Regions from separate parts of the Homo sapiens genome. Here region 1 is linked to region 2. The links are contacts of gene promoters, found by promoter capture Hi-C in human tissues and cell types (Jung and others, 2019). All regions are on one chromosome and are shown on one strand. Each heading gives the region's core, a stretch centred on a gene start or on the middle of the fragment in contact. The rest is flanking DNA. Distances are from core to core; before and after follow the strand shown.

The links. The method cuts DNA at HindIII sites, captures the fragments that hold promoters and counts their contacts. A contact is called where the count stands out against the background at its distance.
Region 1: a contact is called between a fragment that was not itself captured here and the fragment with the promoter of SLC45A4 in region 2, in 2 of the 25 tissues and cell types used here (IMR-90 fibroblasts and aorta).

What each region holds. Positions count from the first base shown.
Region 1 is chr8:140,982,064-140,985,150 of GRCh38, forward strand. The region is part of intron 1 of PTK2 (protein tyrosine kinase 2); the gene reads right to left. Among named protein-coding and RNA genes, the nearest start is that of PTK2, 18 kb to the right of the region's middle. The HindIII fragment of the contact is 8,425 bases long and covers 1-3,087 here.
Region 2 is chr8:141,306,723-141,309,745 of GRCh38, forward strand. SLC45A4 (solute carrier family 45 member 4) reads right to left here and starts at 1,566. Exons shown (of 9, transcript NM_001286646.2): 1 at 1,374-1,566. RefSeq lists silencers at 1,442-1,541, 1,562-1,801. The HindIII fragment of the contact is 10,784 bases long and covers 1-3,023 here.

The DNA.
Region 1 (3,087 bases), core at 191-2,690, 320 kb before region 2:
TAAAAAAAAAAAAAAAAAAATGACTCAGTTAAAAACAGACATGTACTGCTATCAGGAACATTAAACCAATACAGCAAAGCATAGCAAGCTACAGTTTATTTTGATTCAAGTACAGTTTTAAGAAAAGAACCTTCCAACTAAAGGCTCCAAGTCTGTGGAGAGTCCCCACCGCCTTGCTTAGCTCACTGGATCATTAAGATACACATTGGATCATTAAGATAGATACACACTGCATCATTAAGATAGATACGGGGGCTGGGTGCGGAGGCTCCCGCCTGTAATCCCAACACTTTGGGAGGCTGAGGCGGGCAGATCACAAGGTCAGGAGTTCGAGACCAGCCTGACCAACATGGTGAAACCCCATCTCTACTAAAAATACAGAAATTAGCCAGACATGGTGGCGGGTGCCTGTAATCCCAGCTACTCAGGAGACTGAGGCAGGAGAATCGCTTGAACCCGGGAGGCGGAGGTTGCAGTGAGCCGAGATAGCACCACTGTACTCCAGCCTGGGCAACTGAGCAAGACTCAATCTCCAAAAAAAAAGAAAGAAAGAAAGACACAGGACAGTCAGCTGCATCACCCACTCACAGAAGAACCTTAGAAAAGCAGCAGAGCTATATTCAATTCCTTCCCTATCTTTTTTAAAGAAATGCATCATGAATTATGTCACATTTTAGCAGGAGTTGTCCAATGTTAGCGTACGTTTTCAGAAGCAAGTTACTTCACAACTTTTAAGTATGAACCAGTACCTTTAAAGAGTTAACAATACTTATTAAATAATAACCATGGCTGAAAGTGGTAATGAATAAACAGGGAATTCATTACAACATTGTTTCTGTATATGTTTGAAAACTTCTACAAGGTTTTCACATTGAAGCTTTGTATTTTTAGTTATTAAATACGCATTTAACAGAAAAGTCACAGAATTCTCACTTGAAAGAATTCTATCTTTCAAAATCCTTAGTACAAAATATAGTTTTCCATCATCCTTACTAGTGGCAACTAAAAAAAGAAACAAACAGATGCTTATTTTAAAATCTAGGCCGGGTGTGGTGGCTCACACCTGCAATCCCAGCACTTTGGGAGGCCAAGGCAGGCGGATCTTCTGAGGTCAGGAGTTTGAGACCAGCCTGGCCAACAGAGCAAAACCCTGTCTCTACTAAAAATGCAAAAATTAGCCACACATGGTGACAGGTGCCTGTAATCCCAGCTACTCGGAAGGCTGAGGCAGGAGAATTGCTTGAACCCAGGAGGTGAAGGTTGCAGTGAGCCAAGATCATGCACTTCAGCCTGGGCAACAGAGTAAGACTCCATCTCAAAAAAAAAAAAAAAAAAAAAATCTTTGTTAAGGCTTTCATCAATGATCTGAGAAACTGAAACGATATTCACCTAAAGGAATACTATGTAGTTGTATTATCTTAAAGTTTTCCAAGTCCTTGTTGAAGCCCCAATACAAACACCTACTTCTTTAATGTGTAAGAAAAGCATTATAACTGGTAAACTTGTCCATGTGCCTGCCAGTCTTTATGAAGACGGATGGTGTATTCCTCCAGTACAAGAAGGCTGGTTCATCACTGTCCTAGAGAGAGGGAAGTGAAGGAAGGAAGGAAGGAAGAAGGAAGGAAGGAAAGGAGGAAGGAGGGAAGGAGGGAGGGAGAGAAGAAGGGAGGGAGGGAGGGAGGTGCAATTTTACAAACTGAGCAAAGATGCAGGGAAGACTCAGCACTTTGAAAACTGGCAAACTTTTAATGTAAACATTTACTTTTAATAACTGTTACCTTTCATAAAGCGTTTAATAAGACCAAGCACTGCCGGGCACGGTGGCTCAGGCCTGTAATCCCAACACTTTGGGAGGCCAAGGTGGGTGGATCACCTGAAGTCAGGAGTTCAAGACCAGCCTGGCCAAGACGGTAAAACCCCGTCTCTACTAAAAATACAAATATCAGCCGGGTGTGGTGGCATGTGCCTGTAATCCCAGCTATTCGGGAGGCTGAGGCAGGGCAATTGCTTGAACCTGGGAGGCAGAGGTTGCAGTCAGCCGAGATCATGCCACTCCACTCCAGCCTGGCAGCCTGGGTGACACAGCAAGACTCTGTCTCAAAAAAAAACAAAAAAAAAAGACTAAGCATTACATAATCATGTAGTACAATCACATGCCACACAAGGAAATAGAGATTAGAAAACTTAACAAACAAGCCCAAGATCATAGAGCCAGGATTCTGACCCCAACTCCATGCCCTTAACTACCGCAATCAACAGTGGTTATTCAACTTTCAAACTAAGACTCAGTGCCACCTTGCAACCCACACTTTGAAAACCAATGCCTAGCTACTCCAAGTATGGTCCACAGACCACCAGCCCTGGCATCACCTGGGAACTTAGGAAAAATGCAAGTCTGAGCCCTTCCCAGACAGACTGAATTGGAACTTAAAATATAACGAGATCCCTGGGTGGCATGTATGCACTTAAACGCTGAGAAGCCTTCATATAGTGCCTGCACACACTCTATTTTGAGGTAGTTTCTCCAATTCAAATACATATCCTAGAACGGTTAAAGGGAGCTTTCATCTCTTCTGCTTGCTGTGATCCCAAACCAAAGGTAAACATGTGCTGGCAAGCTACCCCAGGTGGCGATGAAAAGTGGCCCTAACCTTTCCTCCACACCCATCCTCAGTCCCACTCCTTCATCTTTACCGCCCCTCTTGTACAGAGCCTAAACCACAGCTCAACTTACTGACTTATCTGAACCCTTCCTCCTCCTAGAGTAATAGACAATAAGGGAATGACTCCACTCAACATCCCCCGAGTTCCTTGAAATGTGCCCAGGAACTACCAAGCATGAATCTAGTGCACGGTTAAATTGGCAGAAAGGGACAGCTGGGACTACTTCAGGCATGTCCTCTGACCCTAACAACTGTGGACACATAATCAAAAGATTGGTACTCTGTGAGCTAGAATGAGAGATCCCAACACAACTGTAATAACATTATATTACCAGTTAATAGGAAATACTGTGCAAATGGACAGAATATCCTGACATAGCTTTTCATCTTCTTTTTTTATTTTTTTATTTTTGTGAGATGCGGG
Region 2 (3,023 bases), core at 316-2,815:
CAGGAAGGATGAGACCGTCTGGGGAATGGAAGCGCAGGGCGCTCTCAGTAATGCTGGGCAGATGCAGTGGCTTTTCCCCAGCAGAAATGGGCTTCGATTCAGAATCTACCAGCCCACAAGAATCATCTGACCCCACAACAATTAGTTCAATCACTCATCTGGTAAACCCTCCTCGCTCCGGGTCATAGACTGGAAAAGACAGCCCCCAAAACAGTAATAAAAACGACAAGCCCTGTTTTGCTGGAGTCAGCTGAGGTATCAGATGGGGGTCAGTGGCTAGGTCTGTGAACCTGAAGCCACACTCCATCAGTGACCCGCACTGGAGAGACACAAACACCTCAGGCTCCTTAGGAGGTCAAGCGGCCCTTCCCAGCCCTCCCTAGCCCCCGCCTTCTAGAATCATTCTGAATAGCTAACCAGGAGGCTGGGCCCCGTGTGGATCCGCCTCCGCTGGAAAAGCCGCTGCTGGAAGTGCTCCAATCCAGAGCAGGATACCTGGGGGAGGAACGGGTTAAGCGCAAAGGGGAAAGGGGCAGCGGGTGCTGAGACGCAGAAGGTGCGGGGACTTCTACAGAGCAGGGAATCTGGGCCCGGATGAACTGATGCCCTGGCCTCTTTCCTCCAGGGACAAGGTCGGTCTCAGGAAATCAAGGTATCTTCAAAGGGACACAAGGGAGCGCAGTGCCGATGAGACCGGGGCAGAGCCACAGTCTGGCGGTGCAGGCTGGGGGTCCGAGGCGGGGGACACTGGCTAGCAGTGCTGCCAGGGTCGTGTGTGCACTGGGCAGAGGGAAAGGAGGGGAAGAAGGGAAGGGGAAGAAGGGGAAGAAGGGAGTGTGTTCGGTTGGGAGGACCGGTCCAGACAGAGGGGAGAGGGGGCCACTTCGCGAGTGGTGTATCGCTGGTTGAATTCTCATAAGTTAGAGATAGCAGGCAGGGGTTAGAAGGACAAGACAGGGTCAGGACCAGGAGTTAGAGGCGCCAGGCTCCTCTCTGGGTAGAGAAACCGAGGAACTGGGGGCGGGGAGGACTGATGGGTGCGAAAGCGGGCCGGGTCCAAATGAAGGCGCGCGCCCCGGGGTGGGGGCCGGGGTGGGGGGAATGAGGGAGGCTGCAGGGCTGGGGACCAGGGCAGGTGCAATCCGGAAAGAGGAGGCGGGAAGGAATTGGGGGGCCCTGAGGAGCCAGCGCAAGCCGGGTGGGGGCACGTCCCCTCCCCCGGAGAAGGTGCGGGGCTGGGGCTGCGGCGCGGACCCGACCTGGAGGCCGAGGCTGTGCGGGAGGTGGGGGTGGGGAGGCTGCAGGTGCCCGGCGCCCAGGTGCGAGGTGCAGGGGGCGGCGGGGCAGGCGGCTGCGGGCGGCAGGCCACTCACCTGTCTCCTCCGGCCGGGGCCGCGGGGGCGGCGGGGCGGCCGGGCCGGGCCGGGCAGGGGCTACGGGGGCGCGGAGCCCCGGGCGCACCGGGGTCGGGAGGCGGCTGCGGGTCCGGGCGGGGGCTGCTCCCTCGGCCGGCCGGCCGGGCGGTCAGTCAGCGACGCGGGCGCGGAGAGAGCGCTGCGAGGCTGCGGCCGGCGCGCGGAGACAACGCCGCTTTATCGGGTCGGAAACAGCCGCTCCGCGCCGCTTCCGCTGACGCAGCGCCGGCCCCTGCGCCTCATGACTATGCAGCACCCGCCGCCGCGGGACGGGGATTCGGGGGGCGGGGTCTGCGCCGCGCGCGCTCATTGGCCTCCGCTGCCGCCCACCCCGCCCCCGAACGGCCGCCCCGCCCCCGCCGCGCCCCTGCCCCGCCCCCGCGCGCACCGTGGCTCCCGCCCCCGTCTCGCCATGGCCCCGCCCCCAGCCATAATCCAGCCCCGCCCCCGCCCTCCTCCCGCTACGCCCCCGGCCCCGGCCCCGGCCCCGGCCCCTCCGCACCGAGCGTCCGCCCTCTCTCCCCTAAAGCGCTGGCCCGCAATCCACCCCATCCCTCTCTGCAGCCGCAGGAGGTGGCCCCCGCCTGTCCCCACCTTCTCTCCCCGCTCCTCTCGCCACTCTGTCGCAGAGGGGTCCGGCTAGCCACGAGGCCCCGGCCCCCGGCAGCCCAGCCCCTTGGCAAGCACCCTCCCGCCCCCTCCGCCCCTGCCCGTGGCGCGGCGACATGGGCCCCATCCAGGTGCTGCAGCCCCTCCTCCGCTGCAGGAGAAAACTCTCCTGTTTTCCCCTCCCTGCCACCCTCCGAAGACCTCCTACCTGGTCCCGGACCACGCCCCCGTCCCCAACTCCCCCAACGCCCCGCGCTCTGCGGGTCCCCTCTCCAACCTGGAGAGCGGGGCAGGACGAAGACCCGACCCGGAGCTTCCTGGAGGCTGGGCCTCCCTCTCAGGCTTGGCCCTGGCCAGGGACACTGATCCGTCTCTCCCCACGTGTAGAAGGGCCACAATCCCTAGGGCAGGACTGCTGGGAAACCCCATCAAGACAAGGTCTGGGGAGGCGGCTTTAACAGACAGATGTGATGGGCTGAGGCCAACCCTGTTAACGTCGCAGCCCTGCACCCTTGCCAGGGTTTAAGTTGCTTTGGAGGAATTACTTCATTTCTCAGAACCTTGGCGTCCTCATCTGTAAAATAGAAATCGTAAGATCCATCTCACCTGTTGCTAAAGGAATTTAGAAGTGAAGTGCAGAGCAGAGCCTCCAAGAGCATCGGAAATGGGAAAATCTGACCATATCAAGTGTTGACAAGGAAATGGAGCAACTGGAACTGCCAGACACTGTTGGTGGACATGCAAAGTGGTACAACTTTCAAAATCTTTTTGAAAGGCCTTGATTACCCAGCAATTCTGCTCCTAGATACACACCTAACATTGTGTTTCTGTTGATAGCAGCAGTGTTTATAATTGCCCCAAACTGGAAACTACTGAAATGCTCATCAGCCGTTAAATGGATACATAAATTGTGATATATTCACACAGTGGAATGACAGCAATGACAGTGAATAATCAACTACACACAACAACATGGATGACTCTCACAAATGATGTTGA